Regions from separate parts of the Homo sapiens genome. Here all the other regions are linked to region 5. The links are contacts of gene promoters, found by promoter capture Hi-C in human tissues and cell types (Jung and others, 2019). All regions are on one chromosome and are shown on one strand. Each heading gives the region's core, a stretch centred on a gene start or on the middle of the fragment in contact. The rest is flanking DNA. Distances are from core to core; before and after follow the strand shown. Region 1 has its middle 130 kb from the start of LINC02920. Region 2 has its middle 180 kb from the start of LINC02920. Region 3 overlaps ASMER1 (adipocyte associated metabolic related lncRNA 1). Region 4 overlaps ASMER1 (adipocyte associated metabolic related lncRNA 1). Region 5 holds the start of NRIP1 (nuclear receptor interacting protein 1). Region 6 has its middle 170 kb from the start of LINC02920. Region 7 overlaps ASMER1 (adipocyte associated metabolic related lncRNA 1).

Region 1 (3,008 bases), core at 337-2,836, 130 kb before region 5:
TTATAAATGATTGCAGCAAATTTTGTAATAACCACCACAACATCACTTTAGTATGCCTGCCAAGTACAATGAAGCATCTATCAAATATAATTCCAGCCTGTAGTTGTTGGGGAGATGTTATTTTTAGAGAGTCTTGAGAAATTTATTTTCTCCAGATGTTAGTTTTCTAGCATTCTGAGAAGACTTTGACTTAAGTCACTTGGTAAGGGAAATTACTACAATCAAAGAGACTCCACAGTGCCATGCTGCCCTCCAGTTTTTAAAAATCTCTGTCTCAGCACTAGTCACTAGGGCAGAATGCATCTCTTGAACCAATTTTATCACCTGAAAAGCAAAAGTATTTCTGTCCCTGAACATTGACGTCAACTCAAACCTTATCTGGATTCCCCACAGCAAAATGTATAAATAATAATTAACAATTACGAAGTGCCAGAAACTGTGCTAAGTGCATAATATGTCTAATCCTCAAAAGGCCCCCATCATATGGGTGATAACATTTTCCCCCATTTTACAGCTGGGAAAACTGAAACATAAGGTGTTAACATAAGGATCCCAACCCAGGTAACCGGTTTCAGAGCTAGAATTTCTAACCACTACATTATTCAGCCTCATCTGGGCTCATTAACACAATTAGCAAAAGCTATAAAGAGTCAAGGTTCTATGTGTGTGCGTGGTTGAGGGCAGGGAGGGACATACTGAATATTAAAGATTCTATTTAAGGTCATTTTTGCATAGGAAATAGGCTGTCCCTTTACTACCTTATAACTCACATCCTGAAGTTGAAAATCCAGGTATCATATTTTAACTGTCTTAAAGACACTTAAGTCCAGTTTCACCTGGGAAAACTAAAAACTAGAACTGTATTTGAAATAAATATGTAAGGTAAGCACAGCTTGAAACTTTAAAGGACAATCAGTTTTCTTTAATTTTTTTGGAAACTTTCAAGCTTACAGAAACACGGTGAGAATAGTATACGAAATAACCATTGAACTTTCACCTAGGTTTTTTTTTTGCTGACATTTTGCCGCATTCGATTTATATATATTTTATTTTGCTCAAGTATTTGAAAGTGAATCACAGATATCATGACATATAACCCTAAATATTTAAGTATGCATCACTGTAAAGTAATAACTATTTCCCACAATTTGCCATAATAGCAATATTATTGTTGTCACATCTAAGAAAATCATAATTCCTTAGTACCATATCATAGGCAAGTCATATTTAAGTTCTCCCTTGTACAGAACATGTATTTTATAATTGTTTTGTTCAAGCTAGGGTCAAAACAAGATCTACTCATTGCTTTTGCTAGTTATCTCAAGTCTCTTTTTCTAATTTCTTTTTGAAGTTGCTTCACTGGACACTACAAGTTCCTTCTTAAATATTCCTTAAAATAAGTGATTTTTAAAATTTAAAAACAAAGATTGGTAATTGGAGTTGATATCTTTTTTAGGGAAATTAAAACAAATAAAAATAACCAGTTGTCTTTTTATTATCTTTTAGATATCCTTTTCAAGTTGTCTAGTACAATGACTTTTACCTGCCTCTTACCATAGTCTCATCTTTTCCAGCCTATGTGTCAGATGAAAACCAATGAAAAAAATAAAACCTTAGAAATTCAGGGCTGAATGATCAAAGATGTTGGAGATCAACTGGCATAACCACCTCCCTTAATACATTAGAAAACCAAGTTCCAAAGAGGTTAAATAAATTGTCCTGGGTCACAACTATATATCAGCAGAAAATGGAGCCAGCACAAATGTCCAGTCCTTTTTCCAGTAATATCACAGTAGAAGAAGATCATATTGCATGGCCCCTGTCTTTCTAAAAGATTGCAGAACAAATGACTTTTCAGATCCTATGCTCTGGCACAAAAGTCAATAAAGCTATTCCTGACATTCCAATTTACATCTGTGACAGCACTTTTTATCAAGCTAGTCTGCAGGTGAACTCTCCAAACCCAGTCCAAACCTATGGACATGAGGTCAAAGGTTTGTTGTGAGTCTTTTGTGCTCTCCCGCATGCCTGATAAAGGCCACATACAAACTGGATGGACTATGTCTCTCAGTGGAACCTCATAAACTCAGCCAGTAGCAGTTTAAAGGAGACCCAATGCAATGCCCTCTTCCAAAACTGGTTTTAAATATAGCTTTTCTCTTGCCACTGGGGGAATATTTCTCCTCTTTCTACGTGGTTGTGGTGAGAGTGCCAATCATGACTTGTCTCTACCCAATAGGGAAACATTGTGTGGCTTGATTAATCGTGGAATACCCTTCTCTAATTCACATGGTTTACAGAGCACATGCACAACCCTAGCAGTGACAATTAGACAATTGCACTCATGCAATTCCATATATTGGAACTGGGAGTAAAACTGTTCTCTCTTTCTTTTGGATCATGTTCTGTAGGGTATGAGCTTTGACAACCTTTCCTGCCAATGCACCTGGTGAGAAGCTTCAGTCAATTCTTAAAAAGAAACAAAGTCATGTGGATCTAAGACATAGAAAGAGTGAGCCCTGACAAGAACGCTTAGACTTGGAATTCTCGGTTAGTTAATTGAACTAAAAAATCCACTTTTTTTTTTTTTTTTTTTGGAACATAGGGTCTTGCTCTGCTGCCCAGGCTGGAGTGCAGTGTTGTGATCAATCATAGCTCACTGCAGTCTCAACCACCCAGGCTGAAGCTATCCTCCTGCCTCAGCCTCCCAAGTAGTTGGGACTATAGGCACAAACCACTACACCCAGCTAATTTTTAAAATTTTTTAAAGACAGGGTCTCACTATGCTGGCAAGGCTGGTTGCAAACTCCTGGGCTCAAGTGATTCTCCTGCCTTGGCCTCTCCAAGTTCTGGCATTACAAGCATGAGCCACCACACTTGGCTACTTTTTTGTTTGTTTGCTTTGCTTTGCTTTTGCTGGATTTCTGTAATTTACATCCAAAAACATTCAAATGAGTACAAAGTTCTACTTTGTAGAGAACCGTCATCCTAAGGTTTTAAGACATCTA
Region 2 (2,894 bases), core at 355-2,854, 190 kb before region 5:
TAATGTACTCTTCAGACAGGGCTATGTGATCACCATGATCACCGAGGCTTTCTATAGAAGAGGATGTCCCACTTTTATTGACCTCGTCAGTTAGTGAGTTAACTATTGAGAATTTGTGGCCAGATAGAAAGGGAGGGAGACCCCACTGGGAAGATGTTTTACTCATCCTCTCAAGTCACTCTCTGCAAGGAGTTGCCTTAACCCACTTCCCCTTCTGCAGGGATGGCTCTTGAGACAGAATTGTTTTTCCTGCTGAGCAGAAAGATACTCCCAGGCCTTTTCTGGTTACAGTTTCCTCTTATGTTCATGAAGAAAACTGTTCATCTTGGTGTCATCTAATGATTTAAGGGTCACCAAAAACGGTAGCCACATTGCTTGAATCAGAATATGGAAAATGAGGCTGTTCCCAGCAACTTTTCACACGCATGAAATGACCCAGCTGTGGAGAGGGACTTACTCTTCCCTAGCAGCCAGCTTCTCTCACATGGCCTCTGGCCACGCTGCTCCCTCTGCATGCAATGCCATTTCACCTGGCTGACATTTTCCCATTTTTGCTTTTGTTTTTGTTTAAGATTCATAGGCATCGCTGTCTCTGAGAAATCTTCCTTAACTGCCCTGTTCTGAGTGCTTGAATTGGATCTCTGATTCTTATTTCTATCCTGGCATTCATCACATTGCTATTTATGTGGAAGCCTTTCACTAGACTGTGAAGTCCCAAGGCGAATCGTGTGCTTCAGTCATTGTGGGATCCTCAGCGGCACTCAATCACGGTTGCGTGAACAGAAAAAGGAGCTCTCCTAGCACTGGCAAGCCACAGCGGTAGAAGATCACGGACATGGGGCAATATACACGATAGCACTGAGAACCTGGGAAGAAAACCCAGGAGAGGAAGGAGAATTCCAACAGTGACAGGAGAAGGGACACAGACCTGGGAGATGACATCATCCATTTATATGTGCCTTGAAATATTTTAATGAGACACTACTCCTTGCCATGTTCTCTGACCTGCACCAAATGCCTGACACACACAGGAGTACTTCATATGTGTTTACTGATTGACTAATTGCCTAGTTCTGGCTCAATATGTCTCAAGAGCCAAGTCAGGGTTATGTAAAATACATCTAAATGTATTTTATGATGATCCTTTTAAAGCATCATCACATAATCAGAACCTTTTAAAGCATCATGACATGTAGAGAAAGGCTCCACATGTACAGTGAGGGGACTCCAGTAGTAGCTGGTGTGCATCAATAATAAAAGTACAAACAAGATGAAACCTTCCTTCAAGCTTGTCATTGTTAACAGAGGAAACAGAAAAATGTATATACAGTAAAAATGATACAACAATATATATTAAGAGTTGGTCTGCCCTTAAGGATAGTGGAGAACATGCCCAATTGTCTTCCTGGGGTCTAGGTCTGACCACAACAAAACTGGATCACAGGAAGAAGAGATAACATGGTTTCCATCCTCACATCCATTAACATCTCCCTCATTGGGTAGCTTAAGAGGATGTTTCAATGTAATCATCCCCCTTATCAGAGGGTAGCCTAATCAGAGCAAGGCTTAGAAATTTTGTGCAATGGACATCACAAGCTGTTACGTTTTTGTAGATATCTCTCCTGCAACTACAGGGAAGCCTGCCTAGGGTGAAGCTAATATGCAAAAGAAGCAGAGCCAAAAAATCACAAAGAAATAGAACAAGAACTTTATTTGAACTACACCTGAAGCCTTCCTATCTCAGTACTTCTCAGTCCTGTCAACCAACATAGGCTACTTATCTTTTATCCAGCTTGAGTTGAGTTTCCGCTGCTTGCTACAAAACATATTTTGATAGGTACTAGAGAAGGATCTATGTCTCCTTCTCATGTGTCCTCTAATTGGCCTCTTGCACAGGAGTGTGTAGGGAATCTTTTGGGGGCACTATACCGTGGAAAGTATTAAGATTACAAATGTTCATAAGAAATAAAATATATGGAAAAAATAGCAATATTGGCATAGAACACCAGACATGAATGCTACTACAATGCAAGAAGGATTATAAAAACAAAATTCAGGTAAAATCTATGAATCATTCTTCTATAAGAATAGTCTAAGGGTTGAGTGTGACCCTGTCTGGTTGTAGATAAAGAACTCAAAGTGCAGTCATATACTTAGTGGGGGGAACAGGAGTATTTAAGAACCAGTGAAGGCTGAATTGTTCCTCTGATCACTCAGTCAGTGATCATTACTGACAGAGTAAATGTGGAATTTTTACTAAAGAATTACTTTTCATTGAAAGCAAATATGATTCACCAGCATAAATACAGAAAAAGAAACAACAGGTGGTGACTACGACTTAAGACATTAAATTTCCATGAGTCAGTGAAGCCAGATGGCATGGATCTGAAAATTCCAAAAAAATTTCAGATCAAAGCATTTTAGATACTAACAATATCGGCAATTTATCATGTAAAACAACTATCAGAGTTAGGGAGTTTGCCAAATATATTCTATGGCACTATTTGGAGAAGCACAAATTGTTCAGGGAGTTCAATTAATTCAATGAAACCTAACAAATTTATTAAACACCAAGTGCAAACCACTGTTCTAGGCACTGGGTACCGGAAGGTGTTTAAGACAAGGTCATGTCCTCCATAATCGATACTTAATTTTCTTATAAAATTTTTTCATTTGAAGGTGAATTAGTTAAGGATCAGCTGCAGATCACGGAAACCATTCTGGCTAGGTTAACAAGGGTAGATCTGGGGGCTTTAAGATTTGTGGAAGCTCTGGGGGCATAAGCCCTAAGCAGAGTGCCCAGGAACAACTTCCAAAACAACAGTCTAGAGTGAGCCTCCGTGGAAGACACTGCTTTTACCACGATAAGGGGGCTGGAGAAGCAAGAGGCTGCT
Region 3 (2,992 bases), core at 181-2,680, 240 kb after region 5:
GACAAATTTCTGGGATATTTCATTATCTTCTTTTTGAATTTTTTTCAAGCAAGACTGTTCAGTATTATGTTAGCATTGATATAAAAAGAAGCAGACCATTGTTAACATTAAAATGTTACTGAGATTTCAAAGGTAGAGGACATTATCCTTTCTTATTTTTCTTTATGATACAGTATTTGTAACATAGTGCTTCTGAAATAGAAAGCACTTTTTGGAAAATAAGTTTAGTGAATAGCCAAATAATTTCTTACATATAACTTACAAAAGTAATACCATCTAGGCTAAGCTATTAAAAATATCAGTACATCAGTAACTACTCATTATATTGACCAACCAGAGCTTATCCATTTTTGGTCATTCTCATCTAGATATACACTTTCAGGCTAAAGAGAGATTTCCTTCCTTTTTCAATTGGTTATGAATAGAAGTCATCAATTTTTTTCTTACTTCCATCTTAATGGTTTGAAATAAAGAGTCAGATGCACGGCTTTTCAATTTCTTTTACTACTTTATTTTATTACTTGATTATTTTAAGGTCAAAAGATTTCCATTTCCAAAATACGTAATAGAAATGATAAAGCAGTAAAATTTGGACTTAAAATAATATGGACATTTTTCTTACAAGTGTCAACATGATTTACACATTATTAAAAAGGCAGTAAAATTTGAACTTATACAGCATAAACTTTACTTAAACTGTCAAATACATGGTTTTAAAGTTATTTTATTAATCTATCACTAATAATTATTTTTCTTATCAACAGAGAAAGTGAAGTTTCCTAAGCCATCACTAGAATTGGAAACACTAGATTTTATAAATTAATTTCTTTTCATTGACCTAAACTCCACATTTCTGCTGTGTTCATCTGAGGTCATGTCCATATAGTCAAATAGCTGAAGGAAAGGTGATATTTTTAGTCAAATCAAACTCCAAACATCATTTTTATCTAAATTATCTGGAGAATTGAATAAATATTTTTTTAAGGCTGTCTGTAGAAGAAAATTATGTCAATTTTTCATTTAGCTAGAGAGGTCCTGACCACAGTGTCTTCTGTTGAATTTCTCCTCAAGGTAGGATTCCAAAATACCTGGAAAATGTGAAACAGTGTTCCTCGTATGGGTAATGTAGCATCTTCACAAAAATTCTGTCATGATTCATTTGAAAAATAATACCTTCTCATGTCTAAAATAGTTTTTCATGAGAAATACATTCTATAAGAAAAAAACAATTGGCCTATCTTAGAGGAAAATGCTATTAAAAATTGTGTTATGGAAACAGGTAACATTTTCTTTATCTTTGTGAGTTTTTTCAACATAAATTTTGGTCAGAGAAATCATTTCAAAATAGAAGAGAGTCAGAAATAATCAGTACAGAAATGGTTTTGTTGAGAACTGTTAATTGAAAAGGCACCAAGTGAAGCCCTCATCTATGTTTGCATAAAAAACTGTTTTCATCCCTAAGAAGCTTGTAGCGTTTGGTGTTTCTAGAAAGCTACCGCAGAAGTGGTGCTGTAGGGGATAGTGATTTTTTTTTTTTTTTTTTTTGCCAACTGATGTTCCTTAATGGCAGCAGGCTTCTCAGAAAAAATGGAAAATTAATAATTCTATATAGCAAGTTCTACATATCATCACTCTATTCTCTAATACTTAGTGTTTAATGTACATAAAGAGTAGCCAATTGTGATATTAACAAACTTATTAACACCTGTTGACAAAGATCTTTGAAGACAAATCTACACGCAAGCTTTTGCCTTAGCGAACAACAGGAATAGTTTCCTTAAAAGGATACAGCTATTTTGAAATTTCCTCAACCATTGCATCCCAGTGGGGGGGATACTTACATGGTAGGACTGTTTGGCCAAAGTGCTTGAAGCATTAGGACACAACAAAGATAGTTTTGAAATGTTTTCTTGCTCAAAATACATTTGTTCTTAGGACACGGCTAGTGCTCATTTTACATTCCATGCCTGAAGTGTTTAAAACACTGTGGTACAGGTTTCTGATTCTGTGTTGGTCAATTTTGAAATCCATGTGTTAGTAGTAAGTGTGCTGATTCGTAGAGTGGGTAACTTCTGGGAACTCCCCTTTCTTTTATTGACAATTTCTTTGTAAAGCAAATGCTAATTCTACAGGCTATTAATAAAGACTGGAACTCCCTTGTTCATTAGACACGCAGTAGGAAAATGGGTAACATAGCTGTAGAAATATATTTGCAATATGTTCTCTTCGCACAATTTGCATATAAATGCCGCTTTCCCTATTTACTCAAATTAGCAATGTGTAATGGAGCACTCATAGCCTTTTTGTAGGTTCCTGTGACCTTTAATTGGCACTCATTTCAGACAATTGCCATTTTAGACATTGCTATCGCCATCTTTTGCAATTAAGTTTCAAAGTTATCATCATGGCATTTTTAATATTTAGAAATTTCTTTTTTTATCTCTGGCTTTCAGTTGAAGACTATTCACCCCGGTGGACTCATCATGTTGGGGACTTTCAATTGCTACTTTAAAAAGAACGCTTCACTGAAATAGGTCTCATCCCATCAGGAACATAGAAAAACAAGCAGCAGGCCGGGCGCGGCGGCACAGGCCTATAATCCCAGCTACTTGGGAGGCTGAGGCAGAAGAATCGCTTGAACCCAGGAGGCGGAGGTTGCAGTGAGCCGAGATCGCGCCACTGCACTCCAGCCTGGGCGACAGAGAGAGACTCTGTCTCAAAAAAAAGTAAAAAAAAAGAAAAAAAGGAAAACAAAAGAAAAAAGAAAAGCAGTTGTTTATCTTTTGGCTTAAGCCAAAAGAACCTCAAATGAAAGAAAACAAACAGATGCCATTAGAAAATGCACTAAAGATATGATGAAAGCTTATCAGAAATAATAATAAAAAATCAAATGTAGCACATCCTATGTACCTGGCACTGTTATAGGAGCTGTGTCTGTATTAACACGTAAGTGTTTGAGGTAGGTACTGTTATTATCCCTATTTGCCAATGA
Region 4 (3,064 bases), core at 550-3,049, 230 kb after region 5:
CACACCCCCATCACATGCCCTGTGAGAGGATCAGGGAACTTTTCCTGTTTGAACAAAGACAAGTTCTTACTGCACGCACTCAGCTGGATGCTGAGCAGAGATCAGCAAGGAAATTTACCTTTGCTGGCTTGGTCAAGAGATCCTGAGATCTCAGCTGCAGCCTTCAGAGTGACTGGGGAGTCCCAACCATCCCATCTTCATTGCCAAAGTGTTGCGGAGGGAAAACTCTTCTTGTACTCACTTTGGTTCCTGGCTTGGAGGCCTGCAGATTAAACTGACAAAAGACAGATTAGCAGGAGAAATAAAAACTAAAGTTTATTTATATATGCATACGGGAGCACACAAAAGAAGTGGCCTCACTAAATAGCTAAAGTTAGGGTCTTATAGGCCTAATTTAAAAGAAAAAGTGAAGGAGAGAGAAAAGGCTTTGATGAGAAGAACATACATGTTTAGGAAAGACATATAGATTCTTAGGGGAACAAGTGGGAGAAATTGTGGTGTTATTTATGCAGGTGCAAGCGGTCTTTTCGTAGCGTCAGACTCCTTCAGAGGGGTATTCATGATAGTTGAATTCTTTTGAAAGTTTCTACTTCTAGGTAGATAAGGAGAATTCAGAAAAAGACTTCACAGTTGTATATCCTGGATCTCTCCACCACAATCCTATTACAGCTGTTACCCATTTTCACTTCCAGGTTTGCTATATACATAATACATTTGTATACATAAGACATAATTCCTGAAAGTCTCATAACTAATGACAGTGATGCTCTATGTATTAAATATAGCATATATTATGTATATATTTAAGCCATGGGGGTAGTTGAACTAATTAGGTGTTTTAGTTATATTTATTTCTTTTTAACGCATTACATGACGTAGGGAATGTGTGAAAGAAATCAGAAACCATGGCTTACATTTCAGTTTCTCATGAAGCTGTGTAATCTCGAGTCTGCTCTTTGAAAGTTGTTTTTGTATTTGTTGGTGAAGTGAGAATAATAATAATCTTCTCGCAGGACTGATGAGATATAAGGAGATAAAAAAGATGAAAGAACTTGGCAGACTGCTTGGCGCATAGTAGGCATCCAATACATTTCAGTTGAAGCTAAATCTACTTGGATCCAACTTCCCACGATGGCAACAAACTAACCTGCCTATATTTTCTCTGGTTTCCATTCGATCCTTGTCTTACTTGTAACATAGTTTAATCATAGCAGGGATGCACTAATGTATGCTACTTTTTTTTCACCAAACATTCGATATATCATTATTGTACATTATCACCATGTTATCCCTTTTAAGGTCACTATGCCATGCTGTCACTAAAAATCAGTCAAATGGAAACACACAGTCATTTACAAGCACTAGATAGTAGTTTGGCAAGGTGGAAGCTTATACTTTTAGGTCATAAATTAATAGCTAAGTTAATCTTCCTTTTTTAATTAAGAAAAGTCAACCAAGCATAAATGTTGATTAAACAGATCATGGTACCAAAAGCAGCATATAGGTAATATATGTTACACAAATTACTCAGCCTGTATCTCTCCATGAAGAACAAAGAAGAAATCAAGGTGATTATCTAAAATATATAGGCATAAAACCTAATAAACAATTTTTTATCTCAGCCACATCTGTGAATTTTTTGCATGAATTATCTGTTTAATTCCTTCAACAATCCACTTAGCTCTTGGAAGTTTTATCTAAACCCTGTTACTGTCAATCATTAAAAATGATACTTTTTCTCTTCACTATTTTATACATGTGAATATTGAGACAATAAATGTCAAAGTGACAACTAAGCTCCTTATAGGAGATACTGAGAATAAAGGCAAAATATGAAAACAAAATTTCAAACTGCTCACATTATTTTGCTGGGGAGTTTTCCTGTTGCTCTTGATCAATATTTCTTAGTCTTGGGAAAAACCTTAGGGAACCAGCATCCTAAATTATTTCTATAGGGTGTAAATTCATCTGCTGTTCCTCAAAATAAGTTATTTATTTTTAGAGAAAAATCAATGTTGAATTTGCAACTTTATCAGGTTTAAAGGCAGGTTAAATTCAGTGACAAAAGTGTTGTTTCTCATTTATATTCTCTGTATTTGAATTCAGGTATCTGTGAACCTCGGGAAATCTTTGCTTTTTTTCTCCCACCTTCCTTCTGGTCTTACAGTCAGAGAGGAAAGGGATATAATGTTTATTGTCTAAGTGATAAACATAAATTGAATCATTTAATGGGCTCAGACCTAAAGAAAAGAAACAGACTTCCCAAAAGAAAGGAGTCATATTGTTTCTCTCCAAGAACAAAATGGCTTGTACTCTATTCATTGGGTATTCTACTCCATTTGGTAAGTGCTCTTTTCCTCTTGCTTTCAGTTTATGTTCAAACATCTACATGCATTTATCAGATTGCCTTTAGAGACTGCCTGTGAGGACAGGCATTTGCATTCACTTTGAACGATCACAGCATCTTGGTATAGCAAACATTCACACCGCTATGAAAAGCAGCAGTCTCTACTTAAAGTATACAAGTGTCACTTGAAATCTAAGCTCTTAAACAAGAGGGAGGACATCTGGCCTTACTCGTTGTGCTCCTTATATTCCCACAGTCTGCAAACTTGCAGAAAATTTCCTTAGCAAGTAACCAAACAACTAGGAAGTATAATAAAATGTACTCACTGATGGTGGATGCTCACTAATGTACCCACCATTGATTAAAAAAATGTAAAGTAAACTTAGAGTACTGTAGGTTAGTTTAAAGTTATCAATTGTGTAATGCAAAGTTGGAAGAGTTTAGCAAAGTATGAGTAAGGGTTAAGTGAAGAATATTTTCAGAGGACTTTTGCAGAGTTTCTAAAAGTATACAGTGGTTTAAAGGATATATAATTCTGACTTATTCTTTACTTGAAAATGGAATGAACTTGGCTCCCCTCAAGCCAGTCCCAATCAGATCGTATAAATGAAGGCTTTTATTGTAAATTCAGTTTTCCGTCAAGGATACTACTTTCCCAGATACTTACGTGACTTTCTTCTTTATTTTCCTTTCAAGTTCCCACTCAAATAACACCTA
Region 5 (3,146 bases), core at 442-2,941:
GCCATTGCCACTAAGGAAAACATTGGCACTATGTGCCCGGCACTGTGCTGGGTGCTGAATTTATTAAGCATTAATTTGAAAAATTGCTTTCACTTTCAAGACTGTGACAGTATTCTAAAACTCTCATTCATATTGTTTAAAGGTTAAGTGAAATTTGCAATACACAATACAGCCATTACATAACAGGCACAGAATACAGTTTCATGACTTGGATAGTTTTTGTTTTTTAAGCGCATTAGCAACTTCATTTCCAAATGCTATCAAATTCTTCAGGATATGAAAACCTACATATAAGAATGGAGTGCCTCATCGGCTCATTTGTCTTATGTAATAAGTGTTTTAACACGGGCATGCCGTTTCAGAATTTCGGGTGAGACTAAGCTGTACTTTAGCTTTTTTGTGTCAAGCAAAAACAATTTCAGCAACAACACTCGCTTCCCCTGGTAATTTTTTTCATGGCGAATTACTAAATGCTAGATGCTCAAGTCAAAAAGAAACCTGACATCTGGGGAGGTGTTGAGGGGGTGTTAATAGTTCTAGTGAGATGTCTGGGGAGCGTTGAGGATACGATTTTTCAAACAGCAAATACAAGGATAAGGGGAAATTATGGTTTCGTATGACTCTCTCCTCCTTCCACTTTCTCGTTTCACCAATCTGTGGCCCCCCCAATTTAGAGGCGGGTTCAGTGAGATTAGGCTGCAGGAAACCGAGAGGCTCCACCGCGCTGCCGCCCCGGCCTCGTGATGTAATTGTTATTTCTTATTCGGAGACCGAACCGAGGAGAGCTGCTGAAGAAGTAGCAGCCCTGCTCCTTTTCCCTTGTCTTGTTGGGTCAGATCCTTCCCGGGGATGATGCAGATTGGCTGACAGACTCCGCTGGAGACTTCGCAGTGACAAAGCAGCCGAGGATTAACCCTGCTCCTGGGTCCTACGTCTGTCCAGGGAGCTGAGCGGGGCGCTCCTCAGGTCTCCTTCCTAGTTTTCCTCCCAGAGTCGCTCCACACGAGTGCTGGGCGCCTACTACGTGCTGGGCGTGGGGTCAAAGTGACCCAGAGTTCGCGCCCGTGCCCCCCAACATTAAAGCAGGACACACAGATTACAAGGAGATAGAAATTGGGGGTGGGTGGGTGAAAGGGGGCCCAGAGAGCGCGTGTTGTGGGGTGAAGGGGAGGAGGTAGACGCTTAAGGCAGGCGGGGACCCTGGAGCGTCTGGGGCGCCCCGGCCCCCAGGCTGTGCCCAAACGGGAGCATTCGGCCTGGGTCCCAAGAGCGCTTTCCCCGGTCCCCAGGAGGAGCTGTCCAGGCGCCTGCAGCGGTCGCGGGCGGCTGGACAGAGCTGGGAGCCCGGGGGACGGCCCGGGCGCGCCGTGCAGCCCCTCTCTCGGGGACGCGGTCCTCTCGCTGCCTCCGGGTCTTGCAGCCCCGTCTGGGACACCCGGAGAGCAGGCGAGAAGGAAATCCACGAAACAGAGGGGGTTCCGCAGCTCCTGTGAGCCGCCCGGATCCGCGCGGCTTCCTCCTGACCGGGTGACAATGGGAGGGAGGGGGAGAAAAGGGTTAAGAAACTTGGCTGAAGAGCTGAATGGCGTGGGGCGGCGAGGGGAGGGACTGGGCCGCGGCGGACTCGGCGGCGGAGGGAGGAGCGCGGCTGCGGGCGGGCGGTGAGCGAGGCGCTCAAAGTCAGCCTCGCAGACATTGCAGCAGAGCCCCGAACTCGGGAGGCGGCGGCGGAGGAGGCGGCGGCGAGGCGCAGGGACGACCCGGCCCCACGCCCGCCCGCCACCCGCGCGCGCCCGTCCGCCCGTGGCCTCGCGTCCGCCGCTGCGCCGTGAGCGCCGCTGGTCGGAGGGAAGAGCTCGCCGGGGCGCCGGGCCAGGACGGGGCGGCAGGCGCCTTCGCGGACCGAGCCTGACGGAGCCGGAGGCTGGGAGCCGCGGCGGCCTGGGGTGAGTGACGGCCGCGGCCAGGGCGCCAGGAGTAGCGGCCGCCGGCGCCGCCGGAAACGGCCCGGGAGCGCGGCCCGCGTCGGCTCTCGCTTGGCTGGCAGGGCCGCGGGGGCGTCGGGGCGGCGGGGAGGGCGCGTTTCCGGGGAAATCCTGCCTCTGCTGCCTGGTTCGAGTCTCCGGGTTCTCGCGGGGGGCCGGGGCGGCGGGCCGGCAAGTTGTGGAGTGGCCCCGGGTCGGCCCGCCCGTCCGTGCCAGTTCTGGGCAAGGGGGCGGCCGTCGCGTGGCCCCTGAGCGGGGCCGGACTCGGGGGGCCGGGTCGGGGTTGCCCCCGCTCGCTTGCCCTCTCGGTCCCGAACCCCGGGCACCGCTCGCCTCGCCGCTCTCCGTCCTGCTGTCCAGCCGGATCCTGGGCGGCGCCTTTCGCCTGGGTGCCTCCCTGCTCCTTGCTCGCTGGATACCCGGCTGGGAAAGTGAATAGGAAAAGGGACAGCTCGCCCGGCCCCCACCCGACCCCGGGCCGCTCTGCCCGCACTCGCGGTCCCCTCCCGATGGCGAGGCTCACGGACCCGAGGCCTCAGCCATCATTTTACCAGGAGCCAGGGGCCGGCCCCCATTTAGGGTGAGCCCGGTGGAAGTCCGGGAGGCTGCCTTTTCTCCCTTCTTCTGTGTCCACCTTATTACGATTGAATATTGTTTTATGAAGGTTTCCGTGGATGTATTCTGCAGACCCTCCCATCCCTTCCAAAGTAGTTTCCCAATTTTGATCAGGAGTTGGTGTTCAGTCAGAAGGAACAAAGGAACCAACTGTGTCTTAGAGGCGGACAGGCTGGGAGTCTGTGACACATGTTGATCTCTGAAGCATTCCAGGAGTTTCTACCTTTTATCACGTCAATAATTGGCTGCTGAAGGTAGTAAAAGAAGTACGGAATGATAAGCACTTTTGCGTTTTAAAAATATTTTTTAATGGCACATTTTACTTTGGGGAAAAAAGACGTTCTTAGGCACAAGGATTTTTAAAAACCCAGTTGGTGGAACTGAGTTGGAGTTTGTTTCTGGTATTGTAAATGATTACATGTGGGATTGTGAAGGAAATTGTGTCCTTAGAGGAAGAGAAGCCATCTGTAGGTGTCCATAGTAAAAATGGTTGTCGGGTTATATGTGATGAATGCTCTTTCTGTTTCTTGGGGGAATTTGTGAAGC
Region 6 (3,113 bases), core at 229-2,728, 170 kb before region 5:
GTGTGTCATGGGGGTTTGGTGTATAGAATATTTTGCCACCCAGGTAATCAGCATAGTACTCAACAGGGAGTTTGTCAGTCCTCACCCTCTTCTCTCGTTCCACCCTCAAGTTGACCCCTGGTGTCTGTCGTTCCCTTCTTTGTGCCCATATGTACTCAATGTCTAGGTGCCCGTAAGTGAGAATATGTGGTATTCGGTTTTCTGTTCCTGTGTTAGTTCACTAAGGATAATGCCCTCTAGCTCCATATATGTTGCTGCAAAGAACATGTTCTCATTCTTTTTATGGCTGCATAGTATTCCATGGTGTATATGTACCACATTTTCTATATCCAGTCTACCATGGATGGGCATGTAGCTTGATTCCATGTCTTTGCTACTATCAACAGTAATGAGCACTTACACATTTACCAGATATTGTGCTACATTCTACAAAGCTCATTCAGCATTATTGAAAGAGATTTTTCAAAACTGCCTAAGATTACATAAAATATAGCATAAATTTATGAGGCTTTAACCAAATACAGTACATCTAAATATTCAGGAATTGGATACTTGCTGAAGACTTAATATGCAAATTGTTGAAGATGTATTTCTTATGTATCGATAAAGAAAAAAAATAACTGGAGGCCAACCTAGAATTGCAGTCAATTTGTTCTCTTTACACAGATGTAAACCCAGCAGTCTCTGAATTTCTGTATTCATGCACATGGAGAGTAACAATCTCCCTGTTCTGCTGTGTGCTCTGTTTTATTTTAGGCTCTTTTGGTTTCAAGTAGCAGAACAGCTCAACTCAGCTTAAGCAAAAGAAAGATTTCATTATAAGAATTCAGGTGAACCTCACAAATCCAATGCCTCTAAAGAAACTGGAATCAGTAATAAAAGCTGTTAGGAACCCAGAGCAGGCTTGCAGTCTCTCTCTCCCCCTCCCCTCCACCCCCATGATTTCTTGTCTCTTTGTTTCTCTTCTCTTGTTTCTGTCATTCTTCATTGTCATTTCTCTGCCTCTTTCCAAATAATGGATGATGGGTGGCTTGTCCAGCATCCACAGACATTTTACATGTTGCTCATCTCCAGCCATTTTTAGAAACTAGATGACTCTGAGTATCGGTTCTTTGAGAGAGAATTTGACTGACTCAGAGTGGTCAAGTGTCCATCTTGGACCAATCAATAGTAGTCAAAGTGGCAAAGGTCTTGCAACAAAATAAATAAATAAAGGAACAAATGGAGACATTCAGGGGTGAATTTCTCATAGAAAGGAGGTGAGTGTCAATTGAGCAGATACTTAAATAATTTTATATTCCATACATGTTCTTTTCCAAAATTGTTCTTATACAAAAAACATATTTAAAAAATTTATAAGTTACCATTTTATTAGGTACTTAAAATATGCAATATTGAGCAGAGTCAATTTCTGAATGAGTCTGTAGTAGATTCAATCCTGAAAACTTAGACCACTATTTTTCAGCCACTATAAAATCATTAGGGATGATTGAATCAACACCTTATTTGGTCATTATGTAATTTTCTCCACTTTCCCAGATAGATTGACGTTCTCAGTTCAATGTAACTAGAACTAAAGAAAATCTGCCGAAGAAATGTTTTTTCTTAATATATTATAATCATGTTTGTGTCATAACAGAGTGGCTAAATGAAAGGGACATACTCAAATCACTACAGGACCAAATTAGCAAATTGAATAGTTTTGGTGTGTTCACAGAATAACAGATTAAACCACGTAACCTCAAGAGAGGCAGCTCCAATACACAGAAATGCCACATAGGAAGAGCCTCTGATCTAAGGACATAGCTTCTGTCCTACCCCATGGATGAAGGGGTAGGACAGAAATCATTCACCCCAATTTTTTCTTAGTTTTTCCTAGTTCAAAAATAATCCTCCAGCCTTTAACAACAGAAATAATCATTACATTGAACCTTGTTGTTGTTGGGGTTTTTTATTTTATTATTTTTGAATCTTGTTTTTAATGTAAATAAATTAGTAAAAATGAAATTATTCTCAGATTGTCATATCCAGTTTTCTTAAAAAAAAAAACTACCCCTTGAAAGTAGCTCACTACTTTCGAGCTAGGCAATAAACTGAGTGCACACATCCATCTCTTCCTCCTGTCCTGCCATTGAAGTGACAGTAAGCATGTTTAAAAGGGAATAAATTATAACAGCATTGTAAAAGGAGGTAATAGGCAGGGGCATAAGAAGAAAAAGTAAAAAGATGGGAAGACATGAAATGTATGTTCAGGGTGGAGGAAGCCATAGCCCTAACAGAATATTCATTGAAAGATGCAGCAATTCAGAAAGGACCCCTTCTGCTGGTGAAGATCTGTAGAAACTCCAACCTGAGAACGAGCAGATTAGAGAACAGGAATGGGCTATAAAACTGTGTCAGTCAGGGTTTAATCAGGAAAACAAATGTCTTTATAGATATTCCAAACTGAAATAAATCACTACAAAGGGTTTATTATCCTAAAGATGTAAGCAACTGGCTACTGCCAATAGCTGAAGTTGGTGATTCAAATGCAGAGGTTACCATTAGCAGTAAGGTTCTACCACTCCTGGGACTAGAGGGACTAAAGGACAAGGTAGGGTTTCCAGGTCCTGAAGCTATAGTGCAATCGCCTGATGGGTTCATCTTGCCTGCTGCCCAGAAAAGTTAATGTACTGAGAAAGCAGGTGTTTTCAGCAAATAAAGAGTTAAATAATCACAGGGCTGGCCAAGTAGAAGGACTGGAGTTAATTCTCAACTCCATCTCAATGAGAACTCAGAGGCTAGAGCAGGGGTGTTCAATCTTTTGGCTCCCTGAGTCATATTGGAAGAAGAAGAATTGTTTTGGGCCACACATAAAATACATTAACACTAACCATAGCTGGTGAGCTTTAAAAAAAGTTGTAGAAAGAATCTCAGAATGTTTTTAAGAAAGTTTATGAATTTGTGTTTGGCTGCATTCAAAGCCGTCTGGGGCCACGTGTGGCCTGGTTGGACAAGCTTGAGCTAGAGTTTTACAGGTAAAAAGAGAAGAAGAAGGCCTGCCTGTTTACCCCACTCTTGCACACTATAAAATATATCTGCTCTTCTTTATACACATAATTTTCTAGCACAGA
Region 7 (2,935 bases), core at 27-2,526, 170 kb after region 5:
TTGAATTATAAAATTTGAATTGAATAGAAACTCACAGAAACAATACATTAATCCTTTGTCTTGGAATTTCTGTGAAACCCTATAAAAGTATGTGTACTCTCTTAGGGTCACCAAATGGCTGAAATGATTTTAAAAAATGACTTTTAAGCCAATGTTTATGTTATCCAAAGCTTTGGAAAGACAATACTAACAAATTCCAGTGGAAAAAAAGAATGTATTACTGAAAGAGAAGTGTTTGAATTGGGCTTTTTAAGTCATAAGGAAGAAGGCCAGCTCAAGGAGTTTAATTTAAGTGAGAGAACGAGGTCTCACAGGAATCCAGATCAAACTGAACACCAAACCTACAGAACTGAATCAGCCCTTCTCTCAAAACTGACTCATCTCTCAAGATGTCTCTTTCAAGGGCTATGTTTTTCTAATTTTTGCTTTGTTTTGTTTTGTTTTAAGACATGCTCTTGATCTTTTGCTCAGGCTGGAATACAGTTGTGGGATCACAGCTCACTGCAGCCTCAACTTCCCAGGCTCAGGTGATCCTTCTACTTTAGCCTCCTGAGTAGCTGGGACTACAGGCACTGGCTACCATGCCCAGCTAATTTTTTGGTATTTTTAGTGGAGATTGGGTTTTGCCATGTTGCCCAGGCTGGTCTCCAACTCCTGGGCTCAAATGGTCTGCCTGCTTTGGCCTCCCAAAGGTTTGGGATTACAGGTGTGAGCCACTGTGTCTGGTCTTGGATGTTTCCTCTTAATCTGCTTTTTTTCTAGTACTCTCTCTATCCTAACTGACTGCTTCTGCTGATTCATTCATTATTCACAGAGCCCAGATGGCTGCACCTATCCTGATTTTTTCATGGCTTCAGCCTCAAACTTTCCTTTCATGAAAGGAAAACAGTTCATTGGACATAGCCCTTTGAATCTCTTAGAACTGATTCCTAAGAGGGAGAATCTGATTGGCTAGGCCACAGGAGTCACAGATTGCTGTCTTATCTGTGGATGAGCCATTTGGTGGGTCATTGTTTTCCCCACATCCAGTCAGCTGTGGCCAGGAAATGGGATGGATCACCTTTCACACAACATGCTTCTTTAGACAGAAGTGGCTACAAGCACAGACACCTTAAATTTCTTACTATTACCAAGAAGGTTGTAGAAATGATTTCCTTAACAAAGGCTTTTCTGCATTTTGAGAAAGAAGGTAATCACATCTCACCCTTTAAATGCTTGATGCATGCTGGATAACACTCAATACTGAGAAACAATTTGAAATATAGGATCCAGGGTTTTTACATCCTGGAATTTAATAAGTTCCATCTTATTAAATTAGCCCTGTGTCTCCCTCATAAAACTATCTGTGTTGCTCTGGGATGCTCAATTTTTTATTAATTTTTATTATCATGATTGAAGCCCTAGAACTTTGGCAGCATGTGTTACTGGTACAGGGACACTGGTTACCAGAGGGCCCCAGTTGTTGGTTAGATAGTGCTGTCTGCTTGGTGACTTGGGTATTAGTGAAGCATGGCCAGAAGTGGGCAAGCATTTCGGAAAATGTACATAGCCCCATTAAAATGCTGACTTGAATGGATTACCAAAACCAGGTTTTGTAGATCAAATTCTTCTTTTGCTTGCTTCTGATGTTACATGTTAAGGCTATTTTCAAGATATAGATGTTGCTGAGACCTAATTCTTTTTCTCCCCTACTTTCAAAAGTATGAAGAACAATTTAAATTTTCTGCCAACGCTTCAGACAGGTTTCTTTTTGTTTTGGTTTTTGAGACAGAGTCTCACTCTGTCGCCCAGGGTGGAGTGCAGTGGCATGATTTCGGCTCACTGCAACCTCCACCTCCCAGGTTCAAGCAAATCTTGTGCCTCAGCCTCCCGAGTAGTTAGGATTACAGGTGTGCATCAACATGCCTAGATAATTTTTTTTTTTTTTTGTATTTTTAGTGGAGATGGGGTTTCACCATGTTGGCCAGGCTGGTCTCGAACTCCTGACCTCAGGTGATCTGCCCACTTCGGCCTCCCAAAGTGCTGAGATTACAGGCATAAGCCACCGCACTCAGCCCAAACAGGTTTTAATTTTTAGCCCATTATGGGTTTTGGAACTAAAATGTTGGGGATTTATAACCATAAAGGGATACAGACTTTGAAACCTGGGATCCCTTCAAAAGAATTAAAGGCAAAAAAGAGTTTGCACCAGGGATTTATAATGAGAATTCTAGCAAGTATTTAACTCTGATGGGCTTGTTACTGGTTGCATTATGATGTGGTATTCCCATTGTAAGTAGACTTAATTATAAACTATAGACCTATGGACAATCAGCCCTATTGAATAATCCTATACAAGGATACTTTGATTATTGGTGTTGCAGGCCTGCCAGCTGTAAACAAATTTAATAACTGGCTGAAGGATTTCTTGACATCCAATGATAAGACTTCATTCTCCCAGTCCTTTCTGAAAACTGAAAAAAGTTATAGATACATAATACTGCCAACTAACATTGAGTACTGATAGGTGCCATATTCTACGATGAGTGCTTCATGTGCTATATTTCATTTAATCATGATGAACTCTCATGGGATATGTATTGTTATCACTCCCTTTTTATAGATGAGGAAAACATTATGTAGAGAAATAAAGTATGTGCCTGGGACAAGACCTAGAAGAGAACTCAGATATGAGCAGAGGCATTTTAGTTCTAATTATAATTGCTTCTAATACCTAACTATGCTGTATTGACAACTGGCTCCCATCCTTAATTAAGGCTAGGAAAACCTATGGATTATCCATTCCAACACCCTAATTCAATAAATAAGGAAGGGGCCCAGAAAAGTGAAAGGGTCCTGTTGAAGTTTAACCAGTTAATTAGGAGTAGAAGTAAACCCAAGTTTCTTAATTCCAAGCCCAATATATTCCCTGGTATGCCAAGGACCCTTACTGGAT

What was found. The method cuts DNA at HindIII sites, captures the fragments that hold promoters and counts their contacts. A contact is called where the count stands out against the background at its distance.
Region 1: a contact is called between a fragment that was not itself captured here and the fragment with the promoter of NRIP1 in region 5, in 1 of the 25 tissues and cell types used here (lymphoblastoid cells).
Region 2: a contact is called between a fragment that was not itself captured here and the fragment with the promoter of NRIP1 in region 5, in 1 of the 25 tissues and cell types used here (lymphoblastoid cells).
Region 3: a fragment that was not itself captured here is called in contact with the fragment with the promoter of NRIP1 in region 5 in 1 of the 25 tissues and cell types used here (dorsolateral prefrontal cortex).
Region 4: a fragment that was not itself captured here is called in contact with the fragment with the promoter of NRIP1 in region 5 in 1 of the 25 tissues and cell types used here (dorsolateral prefrontal cortex).
Region 6: a contact is called between a fragment that was not itself captured here and the fragment with the promoter of NRIP1 in region 5, in 1 of the 25 tissues and cell types used here (mesenchymal stem cells).
Region 7: a contact is called between a fragment that was not itself captured here and the fragment with the promoter of NRIP1 in region 5, in 1 of the 25 tissues and cell types used here (dorsolateral prefrontal cortex).

The regions. Positions count from the first base shown.
Region 1 is chr21:15,194,949-15,197,956 of GRCh38, reverse strand. No RefSeq gene overlaps it. Among named protein-coding and RNA genes, the nearest start is that of LINC02920, 130 kb to the right of the region's middle. The HindIII fragment of the contact is 3,516 bases long and covers 1-3,008 here.
Region 2 is chr21:15,249,957-15,252,850 of GRCh38, reverse strand. No RefSeq gene overlaps it. Among named protein-coding and RNA genes, the nearest start is that of LINC02920, 180 kb to the right of the region's middle. The HindIII fragment of the contact is 3,544 bases long and covers 1-2,894 here.
Region 3 is chr21:14,819,492-14,822,483 of GRCh38, reverse strand. It overlaps ASMER1 (adipocyte associated metabolic related lncRNA 1), which reads left to right. Exons shown (of 4, transcript NR_146322.1): 4 at 1-2,992. Among named protein-coding and RNA genes, the nearest start is that of ASMER1, 98 kb to the left of the region's middle. The HindIII fragment of the contact is 3,318 bases long and covers 1-2,992 here.
Region 4 is chr21:14,838,012-14,841,075 of GRCh38, reverse strand. All of the region lies in intron 2 of ASMER1 (adipocyte associated metabolic related lncRNA 1), which reads left to right. Among named protein-coding and RNA genes, the nearest start is that of ASMER1, 79 kb to the left of the region's middle. The HindIII fragment of the contact is 3,862 bases long and covers 1-3,064 here.
Region 5 is chr21:15,063,545-15,066,690 of GRCh38, reverse strand. It overlaps NRIP1 (nuclear receptor interacting protein 1), which reads left to right and starts at 1,691. Exons shown (of 4, transcript NM_003489.4): 1 at 1,691-1,946. RefSeq lists an enhancer at 790-839 and silencers at 1,170-1,349, 1,600-2,459. The HindIII fragment of the contact is 21,921 bases long and covers 1-3,146 here.
Region 6 is chr21:15,231,429-15,234,541 of GRCh38, reverse strand. No RefSeq gene overlaps it. Among named protein-coding and RNA genes, the nearest start is that of LINC02920, 170 kb to the right of the region's middle. The HindIII fragment of the contact is 4,847 bases long and covers 1-3,113 here.
Region 7 is chr21:14,898,213-14,901,147 of GRCh38, reverse strand. All of the region lies in intron 1 of ASMER1 (adipocyte associated metabolic related lncRNA 1), which reads left to right. Among named protein-coding and RNA genes, the nearest start is that of ASMER1, 19 kb to the left of the region's middle. The HindIII fragment of the contact is 6,600 bases long and covers 1-2,935 here.